Regions from separate parts of the Homo sapiens genome. Here regions 2, 3 and 4 are each linked to region 1. Evidence: promoter capture Hi-C in human tissues and cell types (Jung and others, 2019). All regions are on one chromosome and are shown on one strand. Each heading gives the region's core, a stretch centred on a gene start or on the middle of the fragment in contact. The rest is flanking DNA. Distances are from core to core; before and after follow the strand shown.

Region 1 (5,553 bases), core at 1,404-3,903:
CTCCTCCACATCCACTGCTTGCCAGAAAAGCTTTCCCTGATACGACTTGATAGGATGGTCTCAGCTTAGGCTGCAGATGCTGTTCAATCCACCACTACAATAACCCCAGGCAGGCCATCTTACATGTTTGCATACCTCAGGTTCCGATTCCATAGGAGGGACAGGCTCTGCTCACGTCAAACACATTAAAATGCACCCAGCGTCCCACATTAAATCGTTTCCGTTTAAACATTTCAAGTGAACTGTATAACTTTGCTTTTGAAACAATCATTTATTTTGCCCAGTTTTTGATTGTTCAAATTTTTGTTTGTTTGTTTGGGGACAGGGTCTCACTGTGTCACCCAGGCTGGAGTGCAGTGGTGCCATCTCAGCTCACTGCAGCCTCAACCTCCTGGGCTCAAGTGATCCTCCCACCTCAGCCTCCTGAGTAGCTGAGACTACAGGTGCACACTACCATACCCAAGTAATTTTTTTGTGTTTTTTTTTGTTTGTTTTGCGGAGGCAGGGTCTTACTATGTTGTGCAGGCTGGTCTTGAACTCCCTGGCTCAAGTGATCTTCCCACCTCGGCCTCCCAAAGTGTTGGGATGACAGGCGTGTGCCAATATGCCTGGTCTGTTCTTCAAATTTTGGATCTGAGAATATTTTCTCAGGTCTCAAACATTTTTGAGATCCTTGGAAATCTTGGGGATTCCACGTACCGCTGTTATCCCTAGTACCCATTGGATAAATCAGTCCTGCCCTGTGAAGCCCACTGCAGGGTTTACTTGTGAGGAAAACATCGAGGACAGCATTTGTTCTACTAAGCAGCGTCCTCTCTGTGGGGACCTTGAGTTCCTTGAGCACAAGGGCTGTGTGGTCTTTCTCACCCCCAGGTCCCCACACCGAGAGCCTGGCCTGGCATGCAACTGTTTAATGTTCAACTAGTGGTAATGCCTAAACTGGACTTCTGTGCACTGACTGAAAATCACCCTTCCTAGGGCACGTTGGCCCTATCCCCAAATCCAGGAACATAGGCCACCACTATTTTATATCTTAGAGCCAATTAGAAAAAAGTGCCTCCCCTGGGCTGTTACACTCCACTAGGAAATCTTTCCTTGGGGCTTACTCACGCCTTCTATGTCTTTCCACAGAGCTGGAGTCCACCCCTCACCCTTACCAGGCCCATTCATGCGCAGGAACACTTCCACACATGGCAGGCTGTGTGCACACAGACGATTCCCTCGCCTTTATAGGTGCTATTCCTTTGACTTGAAAAGCCCATCAACTCTAATCTGCACATACAAACTTCAGCACCCAGCCCAAATGTCACTTTCTCTGTGAATCCTTCCCCTATACCTCTCAGGCAGAGTTCATCCCATCCTCCTTTTTATTCCCATCACAGTGGAAGGTACCCCTATTTGAGTCTTGCCAGGTTGCATCAAATTTCTTTCTTCCGGGTTTGGTTCCCTGCTGCACTGTGCTCTCAAGGGGAAGAGGCGTGTCTCAGTCATCTCAGTCTCCAGTGCCTAGGATGAGACCTTTTATATACATGTGGGTCTTCAATAAATGTTTTAGACGGAATGCAGAGCTCTAGTCAAGTTACTCCTCAGCTCAAAATCTCTACAGAACCTTCCCCTTTGCTTCCTGACTTTGTTTCAAATTCCTCTACCAGGCACGCAGAAGCTTAGCCCACAGCTCTCCTCTTGCCTCCCCACCTCACATGCCTTGGCTCACCTGCGCTTCTGGGTGCTGCTGGTACAGCCACCCTCTGACACTTCCTTACCTCTGGACCTTTGCTCATCTGTCCCTCTACCTATAATGCCATCTTCCCCTCTCCCCCTGTCAAAATTCTAGCCATCCTTCAAGGCCCAGGCCAAATGCCATTTTCTTTTTTTTTTTTTTTTTTTTTTTGGAGATGGAGTCTCCCTCTGTCGGCCAAGCTGGAATGCAGGGTCAGGAGCATCTCAGCTTACTGCAACCTCTGTCTTCCGGGTTCAAGCGATTTTCCTGCCTCAGCTTCCCAAGTGGCTGGGACTACAGGCATGCACCACCACACCTGGCTAATTTTTGTATTTTTATTAGAGATGGGGTTTCACCATTTTGGCCAGGCTGGTCTTGAACTCCTGACTTCAAGTGATCCACCTGCCTCAGCCTCCCAGAGTGCTGGGACTACAGGGTGAGCCCCCATGCCCAACCTCAAATGCCATTTTCTTCTTGAAGCATCCCATCAGCAGATGTGGCCTCCACTGTTGAAACCCACAGTGCTTTATCCTCCCAAGCCATTCCTCAAACACGGTTCTGGGGTTGAATGATGCGTGTTTGTAATTAACGCACTTCGACAGCAGGTATCTCCCAACTTCAGCATAGTGGGTGCTCAGTGAATATTGGCCCAAATGGAATTGAGCATCCATGCTACACCTGCAGATGGGAGAGGCAGCAAACTCATGTCCCAGGAACCAGCATGACACAGATCTCTCTTGTCCTCCCCTTGTTTCTCAATAAGGACAATATTTGCGCTCAGGGGAGAAGGGCACAGCTTGCCCCTCCCTTCCTTCCTCAGCCAACGGTTTGGCTTCCCTTCTAGAGAGGTGAGAGAAGGTGTGACAGGCCAAGTTTCCTTTGCTCCACCCCATGGTGTTTCCCCCAAACACCCAGCATAAGTTCACCTCTGGCAGAGTTGCTTTCCAGCTCCTGCAGGTGGGAGTCGACTCACCTGCAGCAGGCACTCGGCACAACTCCGCAGGACCGGCTCACCTGCACCGGGCACTCAGCACAGCCTCCAGCATGCAGCGCCTCCCCGCTGCCACCCGGGCCACCCTGATCCTCAGCCTGGCCTTTGCCTCCCTCCACTCGGCTTGCTCGGCAGGTAGCGTTATGAGCTTTATTCATGGCCAGGCTGGGAAGGGGGAGGGAAGGAGGGAAGAGAGGTGGGAGGGAAAGAAGGAGGAGGGGGAAGATTCTTTGGCCAGGGTTGGTCCTGCGCAAAGGAAGGAGGAAACAGAACTTTCTCATCTGAAGGATTAGGCAGGGGGTGGGAGGTGGGGCTGGGGCAGGGGGGGTCTTAGGTTGGCCTGAGACGGAGATCAGATACTCAATTCCTCAGCTAAGGCAGGAGCAGCCACCTCTCTTGGCCTTTGCCACAAAGAAAGGAAAAAGTTATTTGCTGGAGTCTCACCCATCAGGGGACCAAAATGATATCTCTTGGTCCGCTGTGTCCTGAAGGCTCCTTCTCAGCCCCACTGGGCTGTCGTGCTTTGCAATCCTCCCTGTGCACATTTGTGTCTGACCTTCCCTTTCCTAAGTCCTCCATCCCTCCCTGCCCCTTGTACTTTCTCTGCGACTTTCACAAAACCTGACTGCCAGGAGGGCTGCCATTCACTGTCTCCCACCCTCCTGCCTCCCCGGGCACTGGAAATGCTGGGTTATCTCCCCATTTTCCTGTGGAGGCTGGAAGGCTGATCTACATCCCCTGCCTTGCCCTGCCAGGCCGGGTTCTGCAACTCACGGCAGAGGGACCTTGGTTACCATCTTCTGCTCCTGGCTTTGATCTTGTTCTCAGCCACCTCAGAACACCACCACACTCTCTATGCCCTGCAACACTCCTGCTCCCAAAACCAACCCTGCCCCCAAAGTCCTGTGTCTGCCCCTCTCATCCTCAGACTCTCTTCTGTAGCCACTGCCAGGGGTGTTGGTGTTGAGGTTCAAGACGTGCACTCTTGAGCCGCTGAGCCTGAACCCAGGTCCAGCTTCCATGACTCACTAGCTATGCGACCTCGAGCAAATGACTTTACCTCTCTATGCCAAGTTTCCTCCTTTATCTCATGGGGACAATCATAGTGCTTGTCAAGACGAATTGATGTAATTTCATGTAAAGAACTTAGAAATAGCCCATAGAACACACACAGTGAATGTCAGCAATTATGGTAAGCACATTCATTTTATTTTCCAACTTCACCCCTCCCCAAATAAGAGTGCTGAGTTTCTTTCTACTTACCCCGACAGTGCCTTGCTTATGATGGGAGCTCAGAATCAGAAGACAAGTTTAACTGCACTGAATCGTTGGGTCTTCCCAGCAGCTTTTCTTGTGGAATAGCCCCAAGTAGGGCCAGTCCCTCCCTCGCTTCTGGCTCTGCTTATAAGGGAGGAGGGCGATGTTTAAATTCTTAGGAATTTTCACCGGGGCTATTCCATTTGAACCACAGAAAATTGCTGATATTGAACAATTTTCACCTATAACAATGGCAATTTCATAAGCTCGAACCTAACCCTAGCATTCAGCCAACTAGGGTTTTTTTCCACTCACTTTGGAAGAGGACAACTTCCATTCTAGGTGTAGAGGTGAAATGAAAGTCAGGGCCAAGGAAGTTATTTGAGTCATAAGGAAAATTAGAATAGTGAGGAATCAGTTTCTCCAAAACAAATAAAGACCAGGCTCTAAGCCATTTAGCTGTAAATAATTTACAGTAACAGATTGCATCGAGGCAATTACTATACTTTAAGCAGGACATTGGAGTGGCTTGGGGGTTGGGTGGCATAAAATTAGTCTCAGCAGCAACTTCATGGCTTTAGCTAAACAGCAGGTTTCTTCTGAACTCGTCCTGCTGTGACAACAAGCTCCCTTGAAGGACACACTGACCCACAGCCAGGGGAACCTTGAGAGTTTCCATGCCCACCACTTTTTTTTTTTTCCTTTTTGCATTCCCCAAGAAGCAGAACGAACAGCAATATAATTTCTAGGAAGGTTCTTCCAATCCATCTCTTGGTTTCCATCTACCTAGGTCAGCATGAGCACTGTCTAATAATAGAACTTGCACTGAGGGTGGAAATGTCCCATGTCTGAGTGGTGCTTCCAATATGGTAGCCACTAGTCACACGCGGCAATGGAACCCTTGGCATGGGTCTAATGTAAACAAGAAGCTGAGTTTTTTTTACTGAATTTGATTTTAATAAATTTAAACAACCACAGGTGGCTAGTGGCTGCCGTATTGAACAGTATGGACTTAGAGGTCATCTCTCTTCTTATTGTCAGTTATGGACAGGAACCTGGATGCCTCAGATCCCTAACCCAATCCCACACCTCAAGACAACAGGACTTTAACAATTCATGCTAAAGTCCTTTTTATCTTTCCACTCCTTGCTCATGAATCAATCTATGTGCTGCGTATTCTGGCAGTCTCTGGGCTTGCTTCTATGATGTTTAATTTTTTTTGACAGCCATCATTCTGGAGGCTGGAAGTCCAAGATCAAGGTGTTGATGGTTTGATTTCTCCTGAGGCCTCCCTCCTTGGGTTGCAAATAGACGCCTTCTCACTGGGTTCTCACGTGGACTTTTCTCTGTGCATGTGTGTTGCTGATGTTTCTTCTTCTTCTTCTTCTTCTTCTTCTTTTTTTTTTTTTTTTAGACGGAGTTTCACTCGTCACCCAGGCTGGAGTGCAATGGTGTGATCTCAGCTCACTGAACCTCCGCCTCCTGGGTTCAAGCAATTCTGCTGCCCCAGCCTCCCAAGTAGCTGGGATTACAGGCATGCACCACCACGCCCGGCTGCTTTTGTATTTTTAGTAGAGACAGGGTT
Region 2 (5,553 bases), core at 1,508-4,007, 450 kb before region 1:
CAAGTTTGTGAAACACTAAATCAGAGTTAAGCAGGTATATTTACATCAAGACTTCTCAAAACTTTGATATAGGATATTAAATAAGATGCATGAATCTTCAAATGGGGAGTGTTTCATACAACTTTTCAAAATATATTGACTTTTATTACAAGCAGCATAAATTGTTATATACTTAATGTTGTCCTGAATACATGTTGAGAAATGCTAAGTTAGAAATAGCTGAATCCACCCGGTGCTGGTCTCCAACTCCTGACCTCAGGTGATCCGCCTGCTTTGGCCTCCCAAAGTGCTGGGATTACAGGCGTGAGCCACTGCGCCTGGCCCCTGCCTTCACTTTTGTGTGCAGCCAACCCTAGACCATGGCCCCAGCTGAGCTGCAAGCTGACCTTAGAGATCTGCCAGCTGACCTTAAAGATCTGCCAAACCAGTCCAGACCAGAAATCCTCCCAGCCAAACCCACAGAGTCCTGAGAAATAACAAATATTCCTTATTTTAAGCCACTAAGTTTTTGGATAATTTGTTATACAGCAAATCTGATGGATACAAACAATCTAAACAGATTAGGAAAACAGCATCAGGCCTGGTGGCTGGCGCCTGTAATCCCAGCACTTTGGGAGGTCGAGGCGGGTGGATCACCTGAGGTCAGGAGTTCAAGACCAGCCTGGCCAACATGGGGAAACCCTGTTTCTACTAAAAATACAAACTTAGCCGGGTGTGGTGGCACATGCCTGTAATCCCAGCTACTCAGGAGGCTGAGACAGGAGAATCACTTGAACTTGGGAGGTGGAAGTTGTAGTGAGCTGAGATCACGCCATTGCACTCCAGCCTGGGCAACAAGAGTGAAACTCCTTCTCAAAAGAACAACAACAACAACAAAAAAGATTAGGAAAACAGTATGTCAAATGAAAAATAGCAAAAGCAACTCAACAATAATTCATTTTTAAAATTTTTACATAGGCAAATGACATAAATAAGCTATTGACAAAAAAAGAACTTAACCGTGAGTTTCTTAAGAGAAAAAAATAAAAACATATGTAATAACATAGGAAAGAGATACTTACAAAGTAGTATATTCAATATAACCTCAATTATCTAAAAAAAAAAATTGTCTATATTTTCTGAGAAATAAATGACTGGAAAAATACAGAGCCAAGTGTTGACAATAGTTATATTTGTAGATGGAGTTAAGAGAATTGTAGTAGAAAATTATTTCAGGAACTTTATTCATTCTCTCAAGGCCTCAGAAGCTTTTACCTTCAATATTCAACAGTGACGCTTCCTCTGAGAAATACTCTCAGAAATACTGTACAGAGACTATTTATGCATATGGATGTTATGTGTAAAAATTAGAGTAGAAAACTGTGTCAGTCAAAATATAGAGATTATATATGGTACAAATTCAGCTCTGTGACAGACAACACTAAAATGATTAGAGAAAAACACACTTGCCAAAAAATATAAGCCTAAGTCTAGTAGGACTGAAAATGTGCCAAAAGAGAACATGAGTACAGTGCCAAGTGAAAACCCTCTGTCAAGTGTACCCTCTCTGTCCAGAGAATTGCACAGATGGATTGGAGATGGGGAAAGACAGGACCTCCATCGACGTGAACATCCAATAGCTGCAATAGACAGTCTAGGCTTTCATTCATTGCAGTACACATAAAACACACTCAAGGAGATTGAAAAAAAAACCCTCAAGCATCCCATATTCTGATTCTGATCAAATGGAACTGCTTCACAGACTGATTTTCCTGAGGATTCCATAAGAACACTTTTCCAAGCCCAGGAGCAGTGGCACAGGCTTATAATCCCAGCACTTAGAGAGGCCGAGGCAGTTGCATCACCTGAGGTCAGGAGTTCAAGACCAGCCTGGCCAACATGGTGAAACCCCATCTTAACTAAAAATACAAAAATTAGCTGGGCACAGTGGCTCACACCTGTAATCCAAGCTACTCGGAAGGCAGAGGCAGGAAAATGGCTTGAACCTGGGGGGTGGAGGTTGCAGTGAGCTGAGATCGTGCCACTGCACTCCAGCCTGGGCAACACTCTTCCAGCTATACTCATCTGCTATGAAACCATCGCCAAGGAAATTTTATAAAACTGATTAAGGGAAAAAAAATAAAATTCAACTAGGCTTGCAGCATAATCAGCAGTAATCATTCAGCCAGCTTGCCCTTTTGCCCACTTCCTTGTAGCTTGTTGCTGCTTACTGCCCCAGGATAACGTAGCCCTTGTCACAAGACTCTGTTCATTTTCTGTTCTATAGATAAAATCTAAGACATTGTGAAGTAAGCTTTCCATTTCAATTTCTCTTTTAGGTTCTGCTCACTGATAAAACTACTGACGTCAGCTGTTCTGAAGGACCCAGCAAGGAGCTGACTCATGGAAGATTGCAGTTTCTACCTAATGATCTCATCCTCCTTACCCTGACCAATCAATGACCCCAATTTTCCAGCCCCTCATCATCCATGATCCACTTAAAAACCTTTCCCCAGAACTCCTTGGAGAGATGGATTTGAGACTTGAGGATTCCATCTTTCTCCTCACTCAGTGGCCTTGGGATTACTAAGCTCCTTCTCTGCTGCAAACCCCACTGTCTCAGTGTATTGGTTTATTGCTATACACAGGCAAACAAATCTGCCAATCCTATAAGACTTAGGAGTCTCCAAAAGTCTCTTAGACTCAGATTTGGGATTTTACCTGGGTGGAGGTAGATCTCTTTGTCTCTCTTACTGATACTCTGTGAATAATTAAAAGTGGGAGAGGGTGTGAATTTTAAAATCTTTGAAAACAACCCTACCTTTGCATGATTGTGTTTCTCTAAATAGACTTATGGGGTGAATATTGTCTGTTATCAAGAAATTATTGAGATTCTTAATTAGAGTTTTCAAAATTCAAACTTGACACTACTAATTTCACCTTCTCCTTTTTATGTTATTTTTAAATTTTTAAATTTTTATTTTTTTGAAACAGAGTCTCGCTGTGTTGCCCAGGCTGGAGTACAGTGGCATGATCTTGGCTCTCCGCAACCTCCACCTCCTGGGTTCAAGTGATTCTTCTGCCTCAGCCTCCCAAGTAGCTGGGGCTATGGGTGTGCACCACAACACCCAGCTAATTTTTCTATTTTTAGTAAAGATGGGGTTTCACCAAGGTGGCCAGGCTGGTCTCAAACTCCTGGCCTCAAGTGATCCACCTGCTTCAGGCTCCCAAAGTGCTAAGATTACAGGCGTGGGCCACTGCACCCGGCCATCTTCTCTTTCTTAATTTAATCTCTATGTAATTATTTTCAAAGAGAGAAAAATTAATGTTCTTAATTTTCATATCTTATTAACAATTTATTTTTTAATGGCATTATTTTTAAAATGGCAAATATAAAAATCTCAAGGGGCTGGTGTCCCTGGAATTTTTTTTTTTTTTTTTGTCATTGTTGTTTGGTTTTATTCACTGCTAAGAGTCATATGAAGTCCCTGGGCTTAAATGCTAGATCTAATAATGAAGATAATTTGGCAGTCATAGTGGCCCAGAGCATGAATTCAGTCAGAAAGGTCTCAAAGACACAGATTTCTATCAGTGTATATAGATAGCCTATTTCTCTATTTCTCCCAGCTTTTTTTTTTTTTTTGAGATGGAGTCTCGCTCTGTCGCCCAGGCTGGAGTGCAGTGGCTCGATCTCGGCTCACTGCAACCTCTGCCTCCCGGGTTCAAGTGATTCTCCTGCCTCAGCCTCCCAAGTAGCTGGGACTACAGGCGCCCGTCACCACACCTGGCTAATTTTTGTATTTTTTAGTAGAGATGGGTTTCACCATATTGGCCAGGCTGGTCTCCAACTCCTAACCTCAGGTGATCTGCCCACCTCGGCCTCCCAAAGTGCTGGGATTACAGACATGAGCCACCACACCCAGCCTATTTCTCCCAGCTTTATAGGCCCTGGACAAATGCCTAAAATGTTGTAAACTCCCACAAATAAGGGAGAGAGCCTAATATTCCAAAAGAAAATGGAGGGGCAAAGAAGTATTAATATTTATGGCTATAAAAGACAATATATAACATATTAAATCTGAATGCTGGCCAAGTAGATGATTGTGGCCAGCGGCATTCCTCAAAGATGGTCACAGCGTTATCTCCCATCCTTTGTACTCATCTGCAATGTGGCCTTCACATTCTTCCTATGATGAAATGGGGTCTACTTTCCTCCCCTTTACTCCAGGCTGACTTGTGACTCATTGCCTTTCAAGGTTAGATCAGACGAGGCATTGCAGCTTCCGCCCTGCTCACTAGAATACTCACTGTTGAAATCTGCAACTGCTAGATAAGTAGTGCAACTACCCTGAGGCCCGGACTAGCCCAACCCAGTCGCATGGTGAGACCTGGAGAGGCCAGATAGTGAGAGAGTGGAGGGCCGGCCCCAGCGGCTCTAGCCCCATGCTGTTGCAGCCCCAGCCATTCTCTGACAGCAACCTCAGGAAGGATCCCAAGCCAGACCCACCCAGGCAAGCCCTCTTGCAGCAAAGCCCTCCCCCTCACCCACACAAACCAGGTGTGTCCTAAAGGAAAAGTACTGAAGGGCCTTAAGGGACATGATCAGGCCATCTCTGTCCACCAACTGGTGTTTATCAAAGTTAGGCTCCTACGCTTCCACAGAGACTGGAAGACAGGGGCCTTATCTTTCCTAATGATATTTCAAAGGGATGGCTCCCAGGTCCTTGAAAAACATATTCCACAGTTGAAGAAAATAGATATACACCTCAAAAAGACAGAGAAAGGATTTACAATTGCAAGATTTCAAAGGTAAATGGTCCAAGACAAAGGAGGTCAGGGGTCTATCATCAGGTTTTGGCTGCAACTAACAGTAAATTCTTTTGGCAACCTTAAGTTTTTACAGGCAGAAATGTAAGGGGGGCTGGGTTATCCCGGGGCATGGCCTTTGGCCACTAGAAGCCCTACTGGAGATTAGTTAACTCTCTTAGTGTGGAGGTTGAATTGTGTGTTTCTTCTTCTGGAGACTTTTTCACAGCTCTATTTTGCTTTATTTATTTTATTTTATTTTATATTATGAGGCAGCATCTCGCTCTGTCACTTAGGCTGGATTGCAGTGGCATGACCATGGCTCACTGTAGCCTCATTCTAGGCTCAAGTGATCCTCTCATCTCAGCCTCTCAAGTAGCTAGAACTACAAGCATGCACCACCATGCCTGGCTAATTTTTATTTTTTATTTTATTTTTAATAGAGATGGGGTCTTGCTATGTTTCCCAGGAACTCCTGAACAAGCAATCCTCCCACCTCAGCCTCCCAAACTGCTAAGAGTATAGGTGTGAGCCAGTTCTTGCAGTCCTCAATTGTTACACACAAAAAATAACAAAGAACAAACTTTGTTACCTAAAAACGAAGTGCCTTTGTATCCAAAACCTAAAACAGGTAGCATTAGCTTTTTAGTTTTTCTTTGAGACACAATCACCCAGGCTGGAGTACAGTGGCAAGATCATAGCTCACTGCAACCTCCACCTCCCAGGTGCAATGATGCTCCCACCTCAGCCTCCCAAGTAGTTTGGACT
Region 3 (5,553 bases), core at 1,672-4,171, 340 kb before region 1:
CTTGGCTCACTGCAAACTCTGTCTCACTCCCACCACCAACCCCTTCTGGGCTCAAGCAATTCTCCTGCCTCAGCCTCCTGAGCAGCTGGGATTACAGGCACCCACCACTAAGCCTGGCTAATTTTTTTTGAATTTTTAGTAGAGACGGGGTTTCATCATGTTGGCCGGGCTGGTCTCGAACACCTGACCTCAGATGATCCACCCGCCTTGGCCTCCCAAAGTGCTGGGATTACAGGCGTGAGCCACCTCGCCTGGCCAAGAATGTCACTTTCAAAAGTACAAATGCATACAATGAATTCTACCTCCAAGGAAAATATTTCTTTAAAAGGAGAAATTGCTTCTGCTATTGCTGCATTTTTTGTTGTGTTGTGCTAGGATACTTGGCTTACAAATTATTTCCTGTGAATAAACCATGTCATCATTTTCATTGAGTCCTTTCAATCTCCCACTTTGGTCCACTCATCCAACTCACTTCCTGGCTCTCTTCACTATTTGCCCCTCATAGAGTGTGATGCATGTCCTCATTTTCCAGCTCCTAGTTGCTCTGTTTTTCTTTTTCATTTCTTCTTATGTTATCTGCAACCATTATTTTACTCCATTTGTTTTCCTTCATTTGTTCTCATTGTCTTCCTCATTCTCACCCTCTTTTCCTTCTCTTGATCCTCTTATTGGCTTACTCTTTATTGAGTTTTCCATTGCCTTTTTCCTCTTTTTCCTCTCTGCAATCCCTACCCTCATAATAAAACCTGGTAAAAAGTGCTTCCACAGAAAAGGCAGAACATTAACATGTAGGGATTCACTCTGCCCCGATATTCCCAGAACAGTGCTGCTTGAGTCTAGCCCGAGCCCTTCTGGTGATTGCCCATCCATAGAGTCGGTAAGTTGACCAGAATCCCATTAGTCAATATTCAGTTACAGCTTACCACTCCATTACTTCTGTTCTTCAGAGAGGGGAATAGCTATGCCCCTCTCTTGCCCTACCTCCACTCCCACCCCCACCCCCCACTGCCACTCCCTGGCTCTTTTCCTCCACACTAAATGTTCAGAAGACATTATTTACCTGGGGAGGGGAAGACTGGGGAGGGGAAGCAGTGAGGGAAAGAAATATCTCCTATAATTATCTGTCCTGAGCCTTCCATCTCTCTCTCTCTCTTTTTTTTTTTTTTTTGAGACAGAGTCTTGCTCTGTCTCCCAAATTGGAGCGCAATGGCACGATCTCGGCTCACTGCAATCTCCACCTCCCAGGTTCAAGCGATTCTCGTGCCTCAGCCTCCCGAGTAGCTGGGATTACAGGCACCCACCACCACGCCCAACTAATTTTTGTATTTTTAGTAGAGATCGGGTTTCATCATATTGGCCAGCCTGGTCTTGAATTCCTGACCTCAAATGATCTGCCTGCCTCAGCCTCCCAAAGTTTTGGGATTACAGGTGTGAGCCACTGCACCTGGCTCTTCCATTTCAGTAGAAGATTCAAAAAAGCTAAATACTTGAGGAAAGGAGATATAATTGAGGCAAATACTGAGAATACCACAGAGGGTGAGAGGACCAAAGCATGAGGAAGAAAGTTATAGATGTTTGGTCTCCATGATATTTCTGAGATATTAAAGAAATAGGCCCGGTGCGGTGGCTCACGCCTGTAATCCCAGCACTTTGGGAGGCCGAGGCAAGTGGATCACGAGGTCAGGAGATCGAGACCATCCTGGCTAACACAGTGAAACCCCATCCCTACTAAAAAAAAAAAAAAATACAAAAAATTAGCCGGGTGCGGTGGCAGGCGCCTGTAGTCCCAGCTACTCGGGAGGCTGAGGCAGGAGAATAGCGTGAACCTGGGAGGCAGAGCTTGCAGTGAGCAGAGACAGTGCCACTACACTCCATCCTGGGCGACAGAGCGGGACTCTGTCTCAAAAGAAAAAAAAAGAAATAGGAGCATAAATGATTCTTAGTCTAAATGAATTACAATCTAGTAGGAGAAACTACATGTCCTTTATGTAGGGGGTTCCCAGGATCATCCTTAGTTTCCACAATTTGCTAAAAGGACTCAAAAGATTCAGGAAAAGTTGCTATACTCTCAGGTACAGTTTGTTGTTGTTGTTGTTGTTGTTGTTGTTTTTGAGATGGAGTTTTGCTCGTCACCCAGGCTGGAGTGCAATGGCGAGGTCTCAGCTTACTGCAACCCCCACCTTCTGGGTTCAAGTGATACTCCTGCCTCAGCCTCCTGAGTTGCTGTGATTACAGGCGCCTGCCACCACACCTGGCTAATTTTTGTATTTTCAGTAGAAATGAGGTTTCTACCATTTTGGCCAAGCTGGTCTTGAACTCCTGACTTCAGGTAATCCATCCTCTTTGGCCTCCCAAAGTGCTGGGATTACAGGCGTGAACCACTGCGCCAGGCCTAATCTATATCCTTTTGCTGTAATAAACTGTACCTGAAGCCAGGCACGGTGGCTCATGCCTATAATCCCAGCACTTTGGGAGGCCGAGGCAGGTGAATCACTTGAGGCCAGGAGTTCAGGACCAGCCTGGCCAACATGGCAGAAAACCTGTCTCCATTAAAAATACAAAAATTAGCCGGGTGTGGTGGTGCATGCCTGTAGCCCCGGCTATTCTGGAGGCTGAGGCAGGAGTATTGCTTGAACTCGGGAGGGGGAGGTTGCAGCGAGCCAAGATCGCGCCACTGCACTAAAGCCTGGGCAACAGAGCAAGACTCTGTCTCAAAAAGAAAAAGAAAAAGGATACATGTTAGAATTAGCAAAAGGGAAAAGGTGCATAGACCAAGTCCAGGAGAAGCCAGGAGCGAGCTTCCAGTTGCTCCCTCCGGCACAGCCCCACAGACAGTGCTTCATTCTCCCAGCAATAATGTGTAACAAGACATATGAAGTCTTGCCAACCAGGGAAATGCACCCAAGCCTTGGATTCCAGGTTTTTTATTGGAGATCCTGTAGGCATGCAGCACCTATGTGACTGGTCTTGGCTACTCACTTTCCAGCTTCCCAGAGATCAAACTGACATATAGTGGCCAAGGGCCTCACGTATATAAAACAGGTGTGAGCCATAGGTCACATCCCGAGCATAAACTCTCTGGTCAAATTAATACAGTATGGCCCAAACTCTCAAGCTCTCCTCTTATCAGGCAGGATATTCCAAAAGGGCAGCAGTAACCCCCCAGGAGCGAGTCAAGGGTCAATCCTCTCTTTGGAATGTGCACCATTTGAGTAACCTAAGCTTGCTAAGTTAACCCTTTATTGCACATCCAAGAAGTGTGTTATGTTGACTACAAAATTTTTTAAAAATTATCTAAATTTTTAATCTTCCTGATGGTAGAAAATTTGATGTAGTCATATTTGAGATAATTTGCTTTTGTTTGTTGTGGTTTTGGTCATTTAAGTTCTAAACTCAATCACTACCATATTCATTCTCCCTTTTATCTATCGCTGATTTGAAGGTCCAAGGGTTTAAGAGGGCCATGGCATATGTGGGGAAACACATTAGGTTTTGGGAGGCATTCTTGGTTTACCGTGGCATATGTAGAGTGTGACTTGCCTCCATTCCCGCCCCCCCCCCATAATAAAACATCTGCAAATATTTTCTGTTGTTGTTTTTAAGAAACTGGGTCTTGCTATGTGGCCAAGGCAGACCTCAAACTCCTGAGATCAAGTGATCATCCCTCCTCTGCCTCCTGAGTAGGGGGTATTGCAGGCACGGGTCACCCTACCCGGTTAACAATACAGGTTTTGTTTTCGTTTTTTTAGAGACTGAATCTCGCTATGTTGCCCAGGCTGGAGTGCAGTGACTATTCACAGGCATGGTTATAGTGCACTGTGGCCTGAGACTCCTGGTCTCAAGTGATCCTCCCACCTCAGCTTCCTGAGAAGTGAGGACTACAGCAGTGCACCCTTGTGCTTGGTTTCCATTGGCTTTTGACTGTGGGCCTCCCCATGGACCCCACTGAGATAGTCTGAGATGGCCTTTGGTGCCTACTCATTGCATTCTCCTTATCCTGACTCAAGTCATCCAGACCTCTCAGCTACTTCTGGAAGTCTGAGAATCTTTTCCTTCTTCCTCTAAATCTATAAGAAATTGGGTGAAGGGGTTAGTTCAGACCCTGTATGTCTAAACACGCCTCACAATCAGAGTTCTACTGAAAAATGATTTTCTTTTTTCTTTCTTTTTTTTTTTTGAGATGGAGTTTCACTCTTGTTGCCCAGGCTGGAGTGCAATGGCGCGATCTCAGGTCACCGCAACCTCTACCTCCTGGGTTCAAGTGATTATCTTGCCTCAGCCTCCTGAGTAGCTGGGATTACAGGCATGTGCCACCAAGCCCAGATAATTTTGTATTTTTGGTAGAGATGGGGTTTCTCCATGTTGGTCAGGCTGGTCTCGAACTCCTGACCTCAGGTGATCTGCCCACCTTGGCATTCCAAAGTGCTGGGATTACAGGCGTGAGCCACCGCACCCAGTCCCGAAAAATGATTTTCTTTTCCTTTTTTTTTTTTTGAGACGGAGTCTTGCCTGTCACCCAGGCTGGAGTGCAGCGGTGCGATCTCGGCTCACTGCAAGCTCCATCTCCCGGGTTCACGCCATTCTCCTGCCTCAGCCTCCTGAGTAGCTGGGACTGCAGGCGCCCACCACCATGCCCGGCTAATTTTTTGTATTTTTATTAGAGACGGGGTTTCACTGTGTTAGCCAGGATGGTCTCGATCTCCTGACCTCGTGATCCGCCCGCCTCGGCCTCCCAAAGTGCTGGGATCACAGGCCTAAGCAAGCCACTGTGCCTGGCCGAAAAATGATTTTCTTAAGTGTCCCTGGAAGTTATAGAATTTCCACCCACTAGCACCTTTTGAGGGGTGGGATGAGAAATCTTACTAGCATCTAATGCTTTTTTTTTTTTTTGAGACGGAGTTTAGCTCTTGTTGCCCAGGCTGGAGTGCAATGGCACGATCTTGGCTCACTGCAACCTCTGCCTCCCAGGTTCAAGCAGTTCTCCTGCCTCAGTCTCCCGAGTAGCTGGGATTACAGGCATGCAACACCATGCCGGGCTAATTTAATGTTTTTAGTAGAGACAGGGTTTCTCCATGTTGGTCAAGCTGGTCTTGAACTCCTGACCTCAGCTGATCCGCCTGCCTTGGCCTCCCAAAGTGCTGGGATTACAGGCATGAGCCACTGCGCCCGGCCAGCATCTGATGCTTTTATTCTCCTTGCTGATGCCCTTCTCTTCCAGTTCAGACAGCTTTGATCTCCTCTCTCATAGGTGGTGGTAGTGGTGCAGTTAAGAAACAAGAAACAGCGCATCATCCAATTAGGCGGAAGCACAGGATGGATATGGGAAAGCAGTAACATCAGACAAGAAGATCAGATGGGAATAAAATTGTGGAGAGCTTTGGATGCAGTGGAGAGCCACAGAAAATTATGGGATAAGGGAGGGACATAGGATGAGAGCTGTAATTAAGGAAGAGTAATCTATTGGTAGTGTGGATCTTTGTGAAATATATTTGAACACGCTTTGTAGGGCAACAATATCCAAATAAAGAAATCATATGATTAAGAAAAACAAAC
Region 4 (5,553 bases), core at 959-3,458, 310 kb before region 1:
GGTGGCACAAGCCTGTGATCTCAACTACTTGAGAGGCTAATGTGGGAAGATTGCTTGGACCCAGGAGGACCCAGGGCTGCAGTGAGCCTTCATCATACCACAGCACTCCAGCCTGAGTAACAGAGCAAGACCCTGTCTCCAAAAAAAAAGAAAAAAGAAAATATTTTATTTTAAAAGCTCTATAATTTTTCCTTCACATTTGGGTTTTCGTTTCATCTGCAGTTGATTTATGTGTATGGTGAGGTTGCAGTCCAGTTTCACTTTCTACCTGCTATCCAAGCCCCATTAGCGGAAAATAGTACCATTCTTTTCCCAGTGCTCTACACCGCCGTGCTTATAATTATGTATGCGTGAGTCTGTTTCTTCCTTAGCGTCTGATTTCTCTTTCTCAGGCAGTTTTAATCTGTTGATCTATTTGTTACTACCTGCACCAGGGCCACACTTTTTTTTCCTTTTAGAAAAAAGGGTCTTGCTATGTTGCCCAATTTGGTCTCGTACTCCTGACCTCAAATTGTCCTCCTGTCTTGGTCTTGGGATTACAGGCATGAACCACTGCTTGGCCCACATTCTCTTTACAGTAGTTTTTGACAGCTGGCAAAGCAAGTCCTTATGTAACCCCTTACCAATACCTGTAATTATTTTTCAGAAGCATCTTCTAATTGTTTTTTAGCTATTTGAATTATCACATAAGAATCCACCTGTCAGGTTTCACAAAAAAACATGATAGGCTATTGGGATTATGAGAAATTGATAAAAAAAATCACTTTGGGGAGAATATTATTATGCTTCTTAATTTTTTTCCTTTAAGTCAGATGGGTAGCGTGGTAGCATCCTAACAAAGTTTGAAGGAGGCACATCGTACACATATGCCTGAAAACCTGATCATCATGCTTATGAACCACAAAAGGATCTTATGCTTTCTTTACCGACTCGTTAAGTATAATTATTCCCATTGAGATTTTGCAAGTCTTCTCTTAAAGTTTTTCTAGGTACTTGATAGGTTATGATGCTACTGTAAATGATATTCCATTTTAACTTCATTCTACCTTTTTGTTCCTGGTAAATATAAATACAAATGTGTGGGGTTTTTTTTCCTTTTTATTATTTTTTGTAGTGATGGTGTCTCACTATGTTGCCCAGGTGGGTCTTGAACTCCTGGACTCAAGTGATCCTCTCACTTTGGCCTCTCAAAATGCTGAGAGCTTTTGGCCACTGTGCCTGGCCCAAATATGTTTTATGTCTTAATTTGTTTTTGTTTTTTTGAGCCACAGTCTCCTTCTGTCACCCAGGCTGGAGTGCAGTGGCACAGTCAGGGATCACTGCAGCCTCAGCCTCCTGGGCTCAAGTCATCTTCCCACCTCATCCTCTCGAGTAGCTGGGACTACAGGCATGTACCACCATGCTCAGCTAATTTTTCCTCATTTTTGTAGCGGGGGGGGTCTCACTTTGTTGCCCAGGCTGGTGTCAAATCCCTACACTCCTCTGGCCTCAAATGCCTACACTCCTCTGGCCTTGGCCTCCCAAAGTGCTGGGATCCTAGGCATTAGCCACTGTGCCTGGACCCAAATGTTAAAAAATTTTTTTTTCAATAACTTTGTTAAATCTTTCTAATTCTAGTAAGTTCTCTGTAGCTTTGTTTGGCTTCTCTTGTATCTAATCATATCATCTGTGAATAATGACAGTGTTTATTATTTCCAATCTTTATGCCTTTTCTTTTTCTTGCTTTATCATGCTGCCTAAATTCTCCATTGTTGAATAAAAGTCAAGCCAGTGGAAATTTATCTTGTTCCTGATCTCAGAAAGGAAGCTTCAACATTACACCATTAAATAGGAAGTTTGCTGTAGGATTTTATATAGATCTTTTATAAGCATATAGATATTCCCATTGGTGAGGGAGGGATTCCTGCCATAGGATTATGAGGTTGGCCCAATACATAACAACTGACACTGGGCAGATGAAATTGACAACAGTTTATTAGTCACATAGACTTGTATAGCCCTGGGGAGGACACTACATTGCCAGGCAGGGCCACATGATGGTTGCACTTGGGACGGAGTAAACAAACAGGGACTGTGGGAGGTAGCCTTTTTATGTAGTATCATGAAAGTGGGGTGCCCCTGGTTCCCACAGGAGGATGAGATTGGCTTGTTTGAATAATTATATAGGTTGGCAAGGAACTGAAACTCAATATTTAAGCATAAGCAGAAATTGTGCCTGGTCGCTTTGATAAAGAGTATTTGGTTAAGGGACCCTCTCTGTGGAAGTAGAGTGGGGAGGAGAACTTGTGGTTAGGCTGTTCAAAGTCCTCCCGGTTTTACCAGAATCAAGGCAGTACATAATATTGAACCTCAATTCTAGGCCATATACCTCCCCATTTATTTTCTAATATTCACAGAGGCATGTGTGTCTGTGAGTGTATCTTTTTGATCATAAATAGATTTTTTTTTTTTTTGAGACGGAGTTTCGCTCTTGTTGCCCAGGCTGGAGTGCAATGGCGCGATCTTGTCTCACCTCAACCTCCGCCTCCCGGGTTCAAGTTATTCTCCTGCCTCAACCTCCTGAGTAGCTGGGATTACAGGCATGTGCCACCATGCCTGGCTAATTTTGTATTTTTAGTAGAGATGGTGTTTCACCATGTTGGTCAGACTGGTCTGGAACTCTTACCCTCAGGTGATCCACCCACCTAGGCCTCCCAAAGTACTGGGATTATAGGCATGAGCCACCACGCCTGGCCTTAGATTTTTTTTTTTTTAATATACTTTTTCTTATGTATCTAGTGAAAGCATAATTGTTCCTTTAATCTGTTAGGTGGTGAGTTCTAAGAATTGATTTTCTAATAGTAAAATAAACTTTCCTAGGCAGAAGTCTACTTTGTGATGGCATATTATTCTTTTCACATGCTGTAGGATTTGGTTTGCTAATACTTTGTTTATTACTTTTATGTTTATGAATTACCTTGGCCTGTGGTTTTTCTTTGTAATACTGCCCTTATGAATTTTTTTGTAGAGTTAGGCGAACTTCATAAAATGAATTACAGAGTGCTACTGATTTAATTTCCCTGAAGGAATTTCATGATACTTACAATCCCTGTGTAAGTTTGGAATTAAAGTATTTCTTGAATATATGGTAGCAGTCAGGGACTGGGCCTTTCTTTGTGGGAAGATTTTAACTCTGGATTCAGTTTTCGTAAAGGTTTATCTATAGGACTCTATTCTACTTGAGATACTATGGTAGACAGTTTCTTTTTTTCTAGGAATTTATACATTTTATATAAATTTTCAATTTTATTGATATAGGTAGTTGATAATAACCTCTTGGTAATTCTTTCTCTGTGTCATCTAACGTTATGAATTTTCTTTTTCATTCCCAGTGCTGATTTTATAGGCCTTCCCTATTTCTTTCTCTTTCCTCAATATGGATTTTCAATTTTATTGGTTTCTTTGAAAAAATACATTAATCGTTCTGTTTCATTTTATTAATTTCCTTTTATTTGGGAATATTTTACTATGCCTTGTCAATGTTTTGAGTACTTTTTTTTACAGTAGTAAAATATACATAACATAAAATTTACTACTTTAATCATATTCAAGTATATAATTCTGTGGCATTAAGTACATTCATAGTGTTCTGTAACTTTCACTGCTATTTCCAGAACTTTTTCATCATCCTGAGAAGAACTTTTTTTTTTTTTAATTATACTTTAAGTTCTAGGGTACATGTGCACAATGTGCAGGTTTGTTACATATATATGCATGTGCCATGTTGGTTTGCTGCACCCATTAACTCATCATTTACATTAGGTATTTCTCTTAATGCTGTGCCTCCCCCATCCCCTCACCCCATGACAGTCCCTGGTGTGTGATGTTCTCTGCCCTGTGTCCAAGTGTTCTCATTGTTCAGTTCCCACCTATGAGTGAGAACATGCAGCATTTGGTTTTCTGTTTGCTCAGAATGATGGTTTCCAGCTTCATCCATGTCCCTACAAAGGACATGAACTCATCCTTTTTTATGGCTGCATAGTATTCCATGGTGTATATGCGCCACATTTTCTTAATCCAGTCTATCACTGATGGACATTTGGGTTGGTTCCAAGTCTCTCCTGTTGTCAGTAGTGCCACAATAAACATACATGTGCATGTCTTTATAGTAGCATGATTTATAATCCTTTGGGTATATACCCAGTAATGGGATCACTGGGTCAAATGGTATTTCTAGTTCTAGATCCTTGAGGAATCGCCACACTGTCTTCCACAATGGTTAAACCAGTTTACACTCCCACCAACAGTGTAAAAGTGTTCCTATTTCTCCACATCCTCTCCAGCACCTGTTGTTTCCTGACTTTTTAATGATCGCCATTCTAACTGGTGTGAGATGGTATCTCATTGTGGTTTTGATTTGTATTTCTCTGATGACCAGTGATGATGAGCATTTTTCATGTGTCCGTTGGCTGCATACATGTTTTCTTTTGAAAAGTGTCTGTTCATATTCTTTGCCCACTTTTTGATGGGGTTGTTTGATTTTTTTCTTGTAAATTTACATTCTTTGTAGATTCTGGATATTAGCCCTTTGTCAGATAGGTAAATTGCAAAAATTTTTTCCCATTCTGTAGGTTGCCTGTTCACTCTAATGGCAGTTTCTTTTGCTGTGCAGAAGTTCTTTAGTTTAATTAGATCCCATTTGTCTATTTTGGCTTTTGTTGCCATTGCTTTTGGTGTTTTAGTCATGAAGTCCTTGCCCATGCCTATGTCCTGAATGGTATTGCCTAGGTTTTCTTCTAGGGTTTTTATGGTTTTAGGTCTAACATTTAAGTCTTTAATCCATCTTGAATTAATTTTTGTATAAGGTGTAAGGAAGGGATCCGGTTTCAGCTTTCTACATATGGCTAGCCAGTGTTCCCAAAACCATTTATTAAATAGGGAATCCTTTCCCCATTTCTTGTTTTTGTCAGGTTTGTCGAAGATCAGATGGTTATAGATGTCTGATGTTATTTCTGAGGCCTGTATTCTGTCCTACTGGTCTGTATCTCTGTTTTGGTCCCAGTACCATGCTGTTTTGGTTACTGTAGCCTTGTAGTGTACTTTGAAGTCAGGTAGCATGATGCCTCCAGCTTTGTTCTTTTTGCTTAGGATTGTCTTGGCAATGCGGGCTCTTTTATGGTTCCATATGAACTTTAAAGTAGTTTTTTTCCAGTTCTGTGAAGACAGTCATTGGTAACTTGATGGGGATGGCATTGAATCTATAAACTACCTTGGGCAGTATGGCCAATTTCACAATATTGATTCTTCCTATCCATGAGCCTGGAATGTTCTTCCATTTGTTTGTGTCCTCTTTTATTTTGTTGAGCAGTGGTTTGTAGTTCTCCTTGAAGAGGTCCTTCACATCCCTTGTAAGTTGGATTCCTAGGTATTTTATTCTCTTTGAAGCAATTGTGAATGGGAGTTCACTCATGATTTGGCTCTCTGTTTGTCTGTTATTGGCGTATAAGAATGCTTGTGATTTTTGCACCTTGATTTTGTATCCTGAGACTTTGCTGAAGTTGCTTATCAGCTTAA

What was found. Contacts are between HindIII fragments. The study calls those that stand out against the background at their distance.
Region 2: a fragment that was not itself captured here is called in contact with the fragment with the promoter of TMEM213 in region 1 in 2 of the 25 tissues and cell types used here (dorsolateral prefrontal cortex and pancreas).
Region 3: a contact is called between a fragment that was not itself captured here and the fragment with the promoter of TMEM213 in region 1, in 1 of the 25 tissues and cell types used here (bladder).
Region 4: a fragment that was not itself captured here is called in contact with the fragment with the promoter of TMEM213 in region 1 in 1 of the 25 tissues and cell types used here (H1 embryonic stem cells).

The regions. Positions count from the first base shown.
Region 1 is chr7:138,795,341-138,800,893 of GRCh38, forward strand. It overlaps TMEM213 (transmembrane protein 213), which reads left to right and starts at 2,654. Exons shown (of 3, transcript NM_001085429.2): 1 at 2,654-2,846. The coding sequence starts at 2,765. It overlaps ATP6V0A4 (ATPase H+ transporting V0 subunit a4), which reads right to left and starts at 2,856. Exons shown (of 22, transcript NM_020632.3): 1 at 2,694-2,856. RefSeq lists a silencer at 2,624-2,918. The HindIII fragment of the contact is 6,104 bases long and covers 847-5,553 here.
Region 2 is chr7:138,348,507-138,354,059 of GRCh38, forward strand. No RefSeq gene overlaps it. Among named protein-coding and RNA genes, the nearest start is that of TRIM24, 110 kb to the right of the region's middle. RefSeq lists a cis regulatory region at 3,986-4,949. The HindIII fragment of the contact is 6,739 bases long and covers 1-5,553 here.
Region 3 is chr7:138,452,628-138,458,180 of GRCh38, forward strand. No RefSeq gene overlaps it. Among named protein-coding and RNA genes, the nearest start is that of TRIM24, 4.9 kb to the right of the region's middle. The HindIII fragment of the contact is 3,645 bases long and covers 1,100-4,744 here.
Region 4 is chr7:138,481,674-138,487,226 of GRCh38, forward strand. All of the region lies in intron 1 of TRIM24 (tripartite motif containing 24), which reads left to right. LOC124901843 (small nucleolar RNA U13) reads right to left here and starts at 910; the gene lies at 807-910. The HindIII fragment of the contact is 3,434 bases long and covers 492-3,925 here.